Regions from separate parts of the Homo sapiens genome. Here all the other regions are linked to region 1. The links are contacts of gene promoters, found by promoter capture Hi-C in blood cells and fetal thymus (Javierre and others, 2016). All regions are on one chromosome and are shown on one strand. Each heading gives the region's core, a stretch centred on a gene start or on the middle of the fragment in contact. The rest is flanking DNA. Distances are from core to core; before and after follow the strand shown.

What was found. The method cuts DNA at HindIII sites, captures the fragments that hold promoters and counts their contacts. A CHiCAGO score of 5 or more calls a contact.
Region 2: a contact is called between a fragment that was not itself captured here and the fragment with the promoter of BBS10 in region 1, in 1 of 17 cell types (neutrophils). The highest score is 6.7, in neutrophils.
Region 3: a fragment that was not itself captured here is called in contact with the fragment with the promoter of BBS10 in region 1 in 4 of 17 cell types (M0 macrophages, M1 macrophages, M2 macrophages and 1 more); the score reaches 7.3 in M0 macrophages.

The regions. Positions count from the first base shown.
Region 1 is chr12:76,346,604-76,351,177 of GRCh38, reverse strand. BBS10 (Bardet-Biedl syndrome 10) reads left to right here and starts at 2,763. Exons shown (of 2, transcript NM_024685.4): 1 at 2,763-3,016; 2 at 3,391-4,574. The coding sequence starts at 2,820. RefSeq lists enhancers at 2,362-2,411, 1,558-2,507, 2,508-3,457. The HindIII fragment of the contact is 11,737 bases long and covers 1-4,574 here.
Region 2 is chr12:76,791,498-76,796,071 of GRCh38, reverse strand. All of the region lies in intron 1 of ZDHHC17 (zDHHC palmitoyltransferase 17), which reads right to left. Among named protein-coding and RNA genes, the nearest start is that of ZDHHC17, 30 kb to the right of the region's middle. The HindIII fragment of the contact is 6,806 bases long and covers 1-4,574 here.
Region 3 is chr12:76,070,180-76,074,753 of GRCh38, reverse strand. NAP1L1 (nucleosome assembly protein 1 like 1) reads left to right here. Exons shown (of 15, transcript NM_004537.7): 2 at 515-551. The coding sequence starts at 535. Among named protein-coding and RNA genes, the nearest start is that of NAP1L1, 12 kb to the left of the region's middle. The HindIII fragment of the contact is 4,355 bases long and covers 280-4,574 here.

The DNA.
Region 1 (4,574 bases), core at 1,514-4,013:
AGTTGCTTCTGGCTGTCATTTGGTTTGGTTTTATTAATTGGGGAGAAAAAGATGGGAGGGCCTGCCGGTTCCTCCTATCTTGTTCATAGCAATAAGGATTAAGGAAAACGGCCCCTCATTGTCCAACCTCGTGAAACATCTACAAGATCATTTTCTTGCTAATACTGGCATGCTTCGACTCTAGATGATGTATGTTGTGCCATTATGCTAGTTGAATCTTCTGCATCTCACAAAATATCACTTGTGGGAATAATAAACCAGGAGAGTGGTGACCTACCACAGTAATTTGGTGGGTGCGTCAGAGGCATCTGAACCAGAGCAACTCCAGTAATTTGGTGGGTGCGTCAGAGGCATCTGAACCAGAGCAACTCCATCTTGAATAGGAGCTGGGTAAAATGAGGCTAAGATCTAGGCTGCATTCCCAGATGATTAAGGCATTCTAAGTCACAGGATGAGATAGGAGGTTGGCACAAGATACAGGTCATAAAGACCTTGCTGATAAAACAGGTTGCAGTAAAGAAGCCAGCCAAAACCCACCAAAACCAAGATGGCCACGAGAGTGACCTCTGGTTGTCCTCACTGCTATACTCCCACCAGCACCAAAGACAGTTTACAAATGCCATGGCAATGTCAGGAAGTTACCCTATATGGCCTAAAGAGGGGAGGCATAAATAATCCACTCCTTGTTTAGCATATCATCAAGAAATAACCATAAAAATCGGCAACCAGCAGCCCTTGGGGCTGCTTTGCCTATGGAGTAACCATTCTTTTATTCCTCTTTCTTAATAAACTTGCTTTCACTTTATGGACTCGTCCTGAATTCTTTCTTGCATGAGATCCAAGAACCCTCTCTTGGGGTCTGGATTGGGACCCTTTTCCTCTAACAGGTGTAATATAAATATCTGTTGAGTGCTAACTATGCCAGGCACTATGCAAAGTGTTTAGTGAACATTCTCCACCTACTCAAAACCTCTTGAGATTTTTATTTTGTATATGTTATCTCCACTGGTTTTTTTGGCGGGGATTGTTTTGTTTTGAGACAAGGTCTCGCTCTGTCGCCCAGGCTGGAGTGCAGTGGTGCAATCTTGGCTCACTGCAACCTCCCTTCCCGAGTTCAAATTATTCTCATACCTCAGCCTCCAGAGTAGCTGGGATTACAAGCATGCACCACCATGCCCAGCTAATTTTTGTATTTTTAGTAGAGACGGGATTTTGCTATGTTGGCCATGCTGGTCTTGAACTCTCGGCCTCCTGTGATCTCCCACCTCGGCCTCCCAAAGTCCTGGAATTACAGCCATGAGCCACTGCGGCAGGCCCATTGTTTTTAAAGATGAGAAAAGCAGAGATCAAAGAGGTTACTTGGTGAATGCCACAGGTAAGGAAATGACAGAGCAAATCCAGGTCTGAATCCAAAGCCCATGCTCTCAAGTGCCTGTGTTTTAGGCCAGGCAAGGTGGCTCATGCCTGTAATCCTAAAACTTTGGAAGGCCAAGTTGGGAGGATCACTTGAGGCCAGGAATTCAAGATCAGCCTGGGCAACACAGGGAGACCCTGTCTCTACTAAAAGAGAAAATAACCAGGCGTAGTGAGGCACAAAGCGACTTGAAGGCTAAGACAGGAGGATCACGAGCTCAGGAATGCGGAGCTGCAGTAAGCTATGATCTCGCCACTGCACTCCAGCCTGGGCGGCAGAGTGAAACTTCATCTCTTAAAAAACAAAAAAAATGTTATAAGAGACAGTATTTTCTGTCTTTGGGTTATATACAATAATCCTTGGCCATGTGTTTTAAAGCATACTGTTGATCACCGACGTGATTAATGGATTTAAATCTGCACAGCGGCTCATGCCTGTAATCCCAACACTCTGAAAGGCCGTGGCAGGTGGATCATTCAGGTCATGAGTTCGAGACCAGCCTGGTCAACATGGTGACATCCCCATCTCTACTAAAAATACAAATATTGGCGGGGCACAGTGGCGTATGCCTGTAATCCCAGCTACTTGAGAGGCTGAGGCACGGGAATCGCTTGAGCCCGGGAGGCGGAGGTTGCAGTCAGCCGAGATTGCGCCACTGCACTCCAGCCTGGGCGACAGAGCGGGAGTCCATCTCAAAAAATAGAGACTTCGCATCATTTCTGCTTAATATATTTGTGGTGTCTAGAGTTTTATTGTGATACCTGAGTCTAGGAAATGTGGTAAAGCCTCTGCAGCAGACATAAAGCCTGCAATTCATGGCTGTGGCCAGGCTCTCCTCACCTGTCCTGCATCTACAAATTATTTCCGTTATGGTAAGGAGAGCAACTCGTGGGGAATGTGGACAGGAACATGCGTGAATCCAAGGCAGAGGTTTTGCCCCGGAAAAAGCAGCTTCTGGCAGGGGATGAAAGCCAGCAGAGTTCCAACCGGGGTGCCCTCTCCTTCACGCAGGCCCCACTACCGTGTTGACTTAGGAAGAAAGTTTCTCGGGAGACTAAGGGATTTGGGGGCAGCGGACGCCACTGGAGGGAGATGAATTCACCTAGGGAGCCGGGGAGGGGCTTAGGGTTGCCGCTCCAGGCACAGCTGCTGGAAATCCTAGTCTGTTTTTTCTGCCTTCGCGTACAACGGGCCAGCTCACCCCACCTGGCAAAGCTGCAGGGCTTTTCCACCAGGCGGACAGAAGGGCAGCCCTCTCGCCCAACCAAGAAGCCGTGCTACCCCGGCTTCGACTCCTGGCTTCCGGGTTTTCTCCCCGCCTATTCCGTTTCCGGCCGTTCCCACCCCTGTTTTCGGTCGGCCCGGGTGTTCTGCAAGCTGGTCAAAAAGGGGAAGCGGCCCAGATATGTTAAGTTCTATGGCCGCTGCAGGGTCTGTGAAGGCGGCGTTGCAGGTGGCCGAGGTGCTGGAAGCCATCGTGAGCTGCTGCGTGGGGCCCGAGGGACGGCAAGTTTTGTGTACGAAGCCCACTGGCGAGGTGCTTCTCAGCCGGAATGGAGGCCGCCTCCTGGAGGCGCTACACTTAGAGCATCCCATAGCCAGGTACCCGCGTCCCACACGCTAACCCGTAGCCGGGCACCCCAGGCAGCCTCTGTGGAGCTCTTGTCCCATCCTGAGGCGATGCGTACTTAGAAAGACTGACCTCGGGTGAAACCGCTGTATGCTCGGAATTAGAGCCCTGCCCAAGGGAACACTCCTGCACCCCAAATCTTACCAATTCTCAAGACCACTTCTCCCCACTCCACCCAACGGTGGAATCTTGGAATAGAGCAGAGTTTTTTCCAAGAAAGGAAAAAACTAAGGATGTATCCAAGGAACAATATTCTCATTTTATGCTTATGGCTGTGTAAACATGGTTTTAAGATGTGGGAAGCCAGCCTTCTGAAAATGAGTTGCTTTATTTCTTTTTTGTACAGGATGATAGTGGACTGTGTTTCCAGTCATCTCAAAAAAACAGGAGATGGTGCAAAAACATTTATTATCTTTCTTTGCCATTTGCTTAGAGGACTTCATGCAATCACAGACAGAGAAAAGGATCCTTTGATGTGTGAAAACATTCAAACCCATGGAAGGCATTGGAAAAATTGTTCTCGGTGGAAATTTATTTCCCAGGCTCTCCTAACGTTTCAGACACAAATATTAGACGGTATTATGGACCAGTACCTAAGTAGACACTTTTTGTCTATCTTTTCGTCTGCTAAAGAGAGAACATTGTGTAGGAGCTCTTTAGAGTTGCTCTTAGAAGCATACTTTTGTGGAAGAGTGGGAAGAAATAATCATAAATTTATTTCACAGTTGATGTGTGACTACTTTTTCAAGTGTATGACTTGTAAAAGTGGGATTGGTGTATTTGAGTTAGTGGATGACCATTTTGTAGAGTTGAATGTTGGTGTCACTGGCCTTCCTGTTTCAGATTCCAGGATCATAGCTGGTCTTGTGCTTCAGAAAGATTTTTCTGTGTACCGCCCAGCAGATGGTGACATGCGAATGGTGATAGTAACAGAAACCATTCAGCCTCTTTTTTCCACTTCTGGATCAGAGTTTATTCTAAATTCAGAAGCACAGTTTCAGACATCTCAATTTTGGATTATGGAAAAGACAAAAGCAATAATGAAACATCTACATAGTCAGAATGTAAAATTGCTCATATCTAGTGTGAAACAACCAGATTTAGTTAGTTATTATGCAGGGGTGAATGGCATATCAGTGGTTGAGTGTTTATCATCAGAAGAAGTTTCTCTTATCCGGAGGATCATTGGTCTTTCTCCATTTGTACCACCACAGGCCTTTTCGCAGTGTGAAATACCTAACACTGCTTTGGTGAAATTTTGTAAACCTCTTATCCTTAGATCCAAAAGATATGTTCATCTAGGCTTGATAAGCACATGTGCATTTATACCACACTCTATAGTTCTTTGTGGACCAGTGCATGGTCTCATTGAACAACATGAGGATGCTTTACATGGAGCACTTAAAATGCTTCGGCAATTATTTAAAGACCTTGATCTAAATTACATGACACAAACCAATGACCAAAATGGCACTTCAAGTCTTTTTATTTATAAGAACAGTGGAGAAAGTTATCAAGCACCAGATCCTG
Region 2 (4,574 bases), core at 1,270-3,769, 450 kb before region 1:
ATAAATTTAGAAGACTATCAATCTGAATATTTTCAATGAAAAGGAATTTAAAAGTTTTACACAAGCAAATTCTGCTTAGCATATAATCTTTCAACAAGTAAATGCTTAATTCCTTATGAAAATGCTATAGCCAATGTTAAAATACACTTTAACATTTATAATTATATACCCACATTAGAAGAAAGAAATATACATCATTCTTAAGCCAAGATTCACAATATACTGCAGATAGTTCACTAAATGATTTTTTAAGAGGTTGTTCTCAAACTCCATTAAAATAGAGTAGCTTGAGTAGGTTTAGTATTTTGAGTATACACAATGTTCTGAATAACTGACAAAGCAAGCCAATACATAAGACTTATCCATTTAATTTCTTTAAATCTTTTCTATTTAATTTCTCCACAGAATTCCAGTTTTCAATCTCTCTATGCTCTATATTCAGTGGGGTTAAGGTAAAGTAAAATACTTCTAAGCCAGTAACACTTTCTTATTTCTAAATTTTCTTTTCTGATTCTATTCTCTCCAACCACAAGGAAAATAATTTTTTTAAACTCCAACTTTGACATCTATATGGCTGTAAGATACCTGAAAAAGAATAAAAACTTGATCACATCTTTCAGGGAGAACAGAATAATATACCCAACAAAACATGTATTGAGAGCCTGCTATACATAAAGCTCTCTACAATGTACACTTGGACCCCACCCAGGATAGGGTAAGACATGTGCAACGTTAAAGAGGTTGTCAAAAAACGCAGTAATCAAGATCAACAACAACAAAAACAACAACGTTTTAATGGAATATTTTTAAAACAAAACCAATGCAACAAAACACACACACACACACACACACACCCATGAACCAAACATCAACATTTTAAAACAGAGACAGCATCAGAATCACTAACTCTTCCTTTTGCTTCAGGCTCCACTATAGCTCAGAGCATCACTGTGCATGTATACAAAATATAGCCTGTCATCCTGAAGGACTTCCAATCCAGAATGGAAAGACAAAGTAGAGAAGAAAAATAAGTCAAATATTATAAGCAAGAGCCTTCCAATAATAAGTAAAAACACAGATGAGGGCAACATAATATCCAAAAGGTAATAACATAACTTGAAAAAACTTTGAAAATGTGCTACGGCAAAATGCTATTCTTTTTTACTATGGACAAATACATTGCTTTTACATACCAATAATATTCATAGAATAAAAATAAGTCTCTTTCTGAGGATTACTATCATAAAGTTTTCAAGAAACTTTAATTTTATTTTCATGCCCAGAGACCTCATTTACTGTACATAATGATTAAATTGTATTCTCAGTTTGTTTCACTGACATTGCCAAATGCGAGCTTAAAAATGTTACTGGAAATTAGACTTTTTTTTTCCAGTAACATATTAAAATTAACCTATGTAAGTATCTGTTTTGTGCCTCCGATAAGGTTGTTTTTATTTCCTTAGTAAAAGGTATCTATTTTTTAAAATATGCCTTTAACTAAACATATCTCAAATAATTCTACAGTGGCAGAGTTATACTCACTAAAGAAAAGGTATATATGAAAATCTCCAACCTGCTTTATTACCTAACAAATTTTGTAATAAAGAACTTTATTTCTCACTTTTAAACAGACTGGATACTGGTTTATCTCTAGGACTAGTACCTTGTCAATGTGACAAATGACAACACTCTATCAAGATAATCACAACTATCAATAGGCCTAGGAGTAACAGTTCTAATTATAAAACATATTTTTAACATGTTCATATAAATAAGCATATCTAACATAGATAATAATTTTTAAGCTAAAAATTTGCTATTATATATTAAATATATTTTCAACATACAAATATTTAGTTCATTAAACTCTTTAAAATCCTGTAATTTGGCCGGGTGCAGTGGCTCACGCCTGTAATCTCAGCACTTTGGGAGGCAGAGGCAGGTGGATCACAAGGTCAGGAGGTTGAGACCATCCTGGCTAACACAGTGAAACCCCGTCTCTACTAAAAAATACAAAATTTAGCCCAGCATGGTGGCAGGCGCCTGTAGTCCCAGCTACTCGGGAGGCTGAGGCAGGAGAAAGGCATGAACCCAGGAGGTGGAGCTTGCAGTGAGCCACGATCGCGCCACTGTGCTCCAGCCTGGGCAACAGAGTGAGACTCTGTCTCAAAAAAATAAAATAAAATCCTGTAATTTTTCCTCGATGTTAATGGAAACCAAGAAGCAATTTAATTGCTATTTCTACCAAGAAAAGCAATACTAATTTAAAAATATGTATGTGTGTCATTGTAACTTTTAAGAACGCAGTAATTCCATTAGAAGCAGCTTGGTATAATAGAAAAAAATCCACGACTGAGAGGCTAATGAATAAAAGTCCGCCACTCCCCTACCTAGGGTACACCTAACAAGTCAATTAACTACTATAGGGTACAGATCTCTCCTTCGTAAAACGGGATTTGGATAAAATAAGCAAAAAGTTCCTCTGAGGTGCCTCAAGGTAAAAGTGGAAGAGCTCAGAGATTTCAAACTCCACACACTCATTCCCTTCTTTTGAGGCAGAGCCTCACTCTGTCACCCAGGCTGGAGTGCAGTGGCATGATCTCAGCTCACTGCAACCTCCGCCTCCCAGGTACAAACCATTCTCCTGCCTCAGCTTCCTGAGTAGCTGGGACTACAGGCACACACCACCACACCTGCCTAATTTTTCTATTTTTAGTAGAGACAGGGTTTCACCATGTTGGCCAGGTTGGTCTCAAACTCCTGGCCTGAAGTGATCTACCACTTCGGCCTCCCAAAGTGCTGGGATTACAGGCAGGAGCCACTGCACTCAGCCTCATTCCCGTCTTAAACAAAGCACTTCATTATTTGTTTTTAGATACTGGGTATTAAAAACTTTAAGCAAATTAAATTTAGCAGAGTTTATCTGAGCAAAGGACAACTCACGAATCTGACAACACTAATAACCAAAAGAGGTTCAGCAAGCTCAGCTTCAGAGCATGAGCAGAGGGTTTCAACAGGCTGAACTTGGAAGCAAAGCAATTACTTGATCAGCCATAGCTAGCTAGGCATTTGCCTTATTTGATCATGATCCAGTAAAAGGTCCCAAGTTAGAGGTCAGTTGGTGATTTCTAACTGATAATGTCTCTAGTTAGACTTAAGTTTGATGTCACTGTTTTCATTGAATTGGGTTTGGGTTTGCTTATGTAGGAACCCCAGGACATGCAGCTTTATACAAGATTTCTTCAATTAAAGGTTTAGCTGCTTTCTAAAAAAAAAGTTCTGAAACTTCTAGATTAGACATTCTCCAAGTTCTAAGGGGAACATAAAATGATTTCATATATTTTTTTAAAATTATAGTCACTTGGAAGATTCTTAACATTATCTAGTTGACAGTCAGAAGGTTTTTTTGTTTGTTTTAATAGTCCTGGCTTTGAAGAGAACTGGAAGGAGAGAAATTACCTCCAAAATCTGCTACTATAGGTAGCAGATAGTAGACAGGAATAGTAGACAGGAATGGGAAGAGCTGGGATAAGCTGAGCTGCGATAAACACTGCAGCAAAGAGAAATCAACATGACAAGACTCAATCTTATACAGCAGGTATAGGGCAAATACTAGTTTATATGCCAATGAGAGATGCCATAATACATGTTTATTTGCATACCTTGATGGGATTATATAACCAATCAACTATTCGCCAAGTGTCTATGTGCAAACTAGTTAACTTTTTAAAATGCTAGACCTATTGTGGTATAAGTGTAATCCGTCTTTGTCCCAGGTTCACGGCACAAGGCTCCTAAAATGCTTAAAATTTCTGAGTGATAGGACTGTTTTTTGTCATTCATTAAAGGTCCCTTTTGACTACACCAGAGTTTATGCCAATGAAGTGACCTGGAGTGGAGCCTATATAGCATAAACTCAGGAGGGGGCTGGTGACTAGAATGACCAAGTGATTAGAGAGCTGGAATTTTCAACTCTTCTTACTGACCTCCAGAAAGGAGAATGAGGTGCTGAATATTAAGTTCTATAAAACCTCCTGAAACAACATTTGACGAGTTTCTGGATTGGTGGAGACATTAAGGTTCTGAGAGGGTAGTATGCCTGGAGAGAGCATGGAAACCACACTCCCCTACTCAGACCTCCTCCCATACATCTCTTTCATCTGGCTGTTCCTGAGTTGTATCCTTTATAATAAACTGAAAAATGTAAGTAAAGTGTTTCCCTGTGTTCTGTGAGCAACTTATGCAAATTATCAAATCTGAGGAGGGAGTCATGGGAACCCAATTTATAGCCAGTCAGTCCAGAAATACTGGAGGCCTGATTTGTGACTGGCATCTGAAGTGGGGACTTCAGTCTTGTGGGACTGAGCCCTTGACTTGTTGCGTCTATGCTAATCCCAGATGTATAGTATAGTATACTAAGTATAGTGAGTTCAGGAATATTGTGAAAGAAGGGTAATGGAAGGGACTTGCCCTTCAAATTTAATTCTATTAAATTTATGGTATTTTGGGTCTCTACGGGTACTTGATTCATTTCTAAATTCTACCTAATACTAACGAACCTTCTTAAAACAAAA
Region 3 (4,574 bases), core at 1,208-3,707, 280 kb after region 1:
ATATCCAGAGGGCATAGTGAGTACAGTAGGCATCAGATTTTGGTTTTCTTAAACATGAATTACATAAAATGAATATTGCTAAATACGAAATGGATAAATGGATTTAAGATGCTACGTAGTCTAAAAATTTAAGCAGAAATTGACCTTTCTTGATTGTTGAAAGAATTTGAATGAAGATCCTTTTGTACTGTTCCTTTCCTATGATTCTAGCAAATGTTAGTTTTGTTTTTAACCAATGGTGCTATTATCATAGTCTTTATACAACAGATTCTAAAAGCTTAGTGGTAACTTTTTTGTTTTAAGTAATATCCTCTGAAAAATTATTTTTGGTACTAGTAAGGAAGAATTTGCATGTTCCATGAGTTTTTTCTTCTTAACACTGATAGTATTTTAAAGGAAATAGACATTTCTTGGGATAGTTTTCAGTATGGTATTGATTTAAAGGGTTTTGGTTTCTTATTTTTTTTTAATAAATCATATACTTTTTTTTTAACATTGATGTTTCTCTCCATAGATATTTGGAGTTCTTACAACATGGCAGACATTGACAAGTAAGTGGCAGAGAGTTGGTTCTTTTTCAGAGATTTGGCATCACTTTGTACTCTGTTCTTAACAGCAAGTAGTATGAATTATATATTATGAAAATGTAGTTACTAATGCTTAGTACCTACTTTTACAAAAGTCTAGTGCAGTGTATTCAAGGTAAAATATAGAATATATGATCATTAGCATATTTATGATCATATATTCGAAACCATCGTATATACTAAACCATTTGTCACTATTTTTAAGAAAATGCTGAGCATGATAATGGATTATAAATACTTGCAGAATTCATTTTTATTGTATATATTTCCCAAAGATTTACTGCTTGCATTGTAATGTACCAAACACCCAAAATGTGTATAAAATGTATTTATATATAGAGCTTAAGGAATATTCAGACAAGTTAAAAATAGAACATTACTATCAGAAGCCTTGTGTGCCCCTTCTCAATTGCACCTTTCCCTTGCAGACATGTAAGTGCTATCCTGGCTTTTGCTAATTCTTTTCTTTGCTTTCCTTCAGAGCTTTACCACCTATAAATAATCAGTGTTTAATTTTGAAAATCTGAATAGTGATCACAAAGTTAGCTATGTAAAGCAACATTGCCACTTTGCCACTGTTAATTGAAGGCTATAAGATAGGATAACAAGGAAGAAAGACTATCTGGGTCATAGTCTGGCCTCAAGTTTTGTGAGGCTTTATAAAAGACTTATTGTGGAGAAGTATTGGGCAAGGTCATGTGTCCTGGGAAGTATAGGTTTAATCAAGTTGGCATGTGGCAGGATTCTAATGTGGATGGATGTTTTATAGAAACAGGGTCAGGAAGAATGGGATGAGGTACACAGTGTTTGTTGCGTGTAATTTTACAGTAGCCCGTGTTAAAATAGAGCACTTGGGAGTGAGGGGATGCTAAATTATTTTCCATAGCTGTTGTAGGCATCAGCGAATGATAGTGGGAGGGCTGGAAACTTCAGTACAAGATCAACACATAGAAGTACAAATAAGAATTTGGGCCACTCTTACGCATTTTATCTTCAGCATTAAAAAAAAACAGATGAGTGACTTATGCATTCTGTCTTCAGCATTAAAAAAAACGAGAAGAGTGGAAACGGCATTTTTAATAATAATGGTTCCCAAAGTGATTGTCTCCTGTGTCACACCTCTAATTTGGATTGCTTAACCTTGGTGACATGGCTGTCATTGGATCTATTTTACTATCTTCCTGAGGTTTCACCTTGTTTCTCCTCTTGGGTTTGTTGTTTGCCATATCTCACATTGCTTTCTCGGTTTGTTAGTACCTTCTTGGAAGAGTACAAGGGAGCTAAATTATTTTAAGACATGTCATGACTGAAAACGACTATTCTACCTTTATGCCGGATAGTTTGGGTGTAGGATAGTAAGATGGGATCATTTTTCTTCAGAATTTTGAAGGCATTGCTCCATTGTCACCTTGCTTCCAGTGTTGCTGTGTTGAAGTTCAGAGTCATTGTAACTAACCATTTGTGTGTGATAATTAAGAAATATGTACATTTACACTATATATACATTTCTGGAAGCTACTCTGGCTTCAGAGTTCTGAAATTTTCACATTATTATTTTTTTCTCTTAATGTTACATATTCAGTGGTGGACCCTTTCAGTGCAGCAATTCAGTGGCTTTTAGTTCAGGGATATTCTTGATTGAACTTTGTGATTGTCTCATTTGTTTTCTCTTTCTGGAGCTACTATTAGATGTTGTGTGTTGGATTGCTCTCATGACCTTTTGTCCTATTTTCCATCTCTGTCTCTTTGCTCTTCTTTCTGGACAGAACTGAAGACTTTCAGCTTGTGTTGAGTTTTAAAATTTCTGTTGTTTTAGTTTCCAAGACCTGCTTCGTTCTTCCTGTTTTTTTGTTTTTTTTTTTTTTTAAATAGCATCCTCTTCTTGTTTCATTGATGATAATGTCTTTTCTCTGGATGTTTCTTCCATCTTTATAGTCCATTTGCTCTTACATTTTCTTTCTCTCATTTGTTTTGGTCTCAATCTAGGATGCTTTCCTCAAATATAAATCAATACTTGGTTGGCTGCTCATTAAGATTGGATTGGGTGGGGTGTAGGGACACTTCAGACATGTTTAAAAAAGAAAATTGATTGGAAAATTTGAGCGTTGGAGTGGGGAGGCTTGTTAATTTGGGATTTCAGTGTAGGGTCACCAGAGTGGGCATTTGTTAGAAACCCCAGTGTTAGAATGGTCATTTTTTTTTTTTTCTGGGCTAGTCAGATTCATCGTTGAACAGTGTCTGGGTAAAGATCTGGCTTCTGGTGTTCCTTTAAATGTAGAGGAGGCTCTACATTTAGCATTCTAATGTGTACATAGTCCTATATCTTTGATACTGTTGACTGTGTCTGTTGTCTTCCAGTCCAAGTTCTGAATTTTACCCTTTCCTGAGAGGAAACTGAATATTTCTGCTAGTGTAGAGAAGATCTAATGATTTAACTGCTTATCAGTTTTTACTTTCTTGTTTTAGCGACCTTCTCTCCTGTCCCACCCCTTGCCCTAGTTCTAGAAATGTACCTGGTGCTACCAGTTCTTATCCTTTTGAAGACTGATTGGGCTGCTTCTCAGCTTTCCCCACTGCTAATCTTAGATTTCAGTTCTCTCAATGAAATTATCACTTGTCTGGTTTCCAGCTTCCAAAATGTTGCTGCCCTTGTTTTCTTTGATTTCAGTGTTAGCCTGCTAACAAAACAAAACAAAAAAACCCTTTATCATAATTTTAGTGGAGATTTTAGAAGGATTAAGATCAGATGAGTTTGTGGCATCTGCCATCTTAACTTTGCAACTCTCATTTTAAACTTTAAAAAGAGTAAATTGGTTGTGACAGCTTGATTTCCCCCTTCCTTATTATTTAATTTTGGATGCCTGTTAGCCCTGGGAGGGTGGAAGTCAGAGGGGAGTCTTGTGCTTGAAAACCAGAGTCAGTAAACCTTTCTCTGTAAAAGGCTTGGTGGTAAACATTTTCAGCATTTTGGGCCACATACGATTCTCTAACTGCAGTTGGCCCTCTGTGTCTGTGGGTTCAGCATCCATGAGTTTGCATCTATGAATTCAACCAACTGCAGATGGAAAATATTAGGGTAAAAAACAATAAAATATAACAGCACAATAATAAATACAAATAAGCAATAGAACATAACAACTATTGTTTGTTTGTTTTGTTTTTAATAGAGAATTCTTACTGTGTTAATCAGGCTGGTCTTGAACTCCTGGCCTCCAGTGATCCTCTTGCCTTGGCTTCCGGAATGTTGGGATTGTAGGCATGAGCCACTTTGTCTGGCCCAGCATAATACAACTATTTACATAACGTTTATATGGTATATAGTATTATTATAAGTAATCTAGAGGTGATTTAAAGTATGCAGGAGGATGTGCATAGGTTAGTTGTAATTACTGTGCCATTTTATATAAGGGACTTGAACATCCCAGGATTTTGGTAGGGAGGTTTCCTGGAACCAGTCCACCATAGACTCTGAGGGATGACTGTACTCAACTCTGCTGATGTAGTGTGAAAGCAGACAATACATAAATGTAGTGCATCTGTGTTCCAATAAAATTTTATTTACAATAATAGGGTGGGCTGGATTTGGCCACATGGGCATAGTTTGTGGACAGCTGTTTTAAAGCCTTTGGATATAGATGTTCAATTGATTAAAGACACGAGAGGAGGAGATGCTCCAGTTATCTGTAACCAGTGACCGTTAAGTGTGTACACTTATCAAACACTTAAAGTTTATACTAAATCAAAGTTCTTCCAGAAATAGGCTGGGCGTGGTGGCTTATGCCTGTAATCCCAGGATTTTGGAAGGCGGACGTGGGAGGATCACCTGAGGCCAGGAGTTTGAGACCAGCCCAGCCTGTCTCTACTAAAAATACAGAAATTAGCCAGGTGCAGTGGCGCACTCCTGTAGTCCCAGCTATTCAGGAGGCTGAGGCACGAGAATTGCTTGAGCTTGGGGGGCAGAGGTTGCAGTGAGCTGAGATTGTGCCA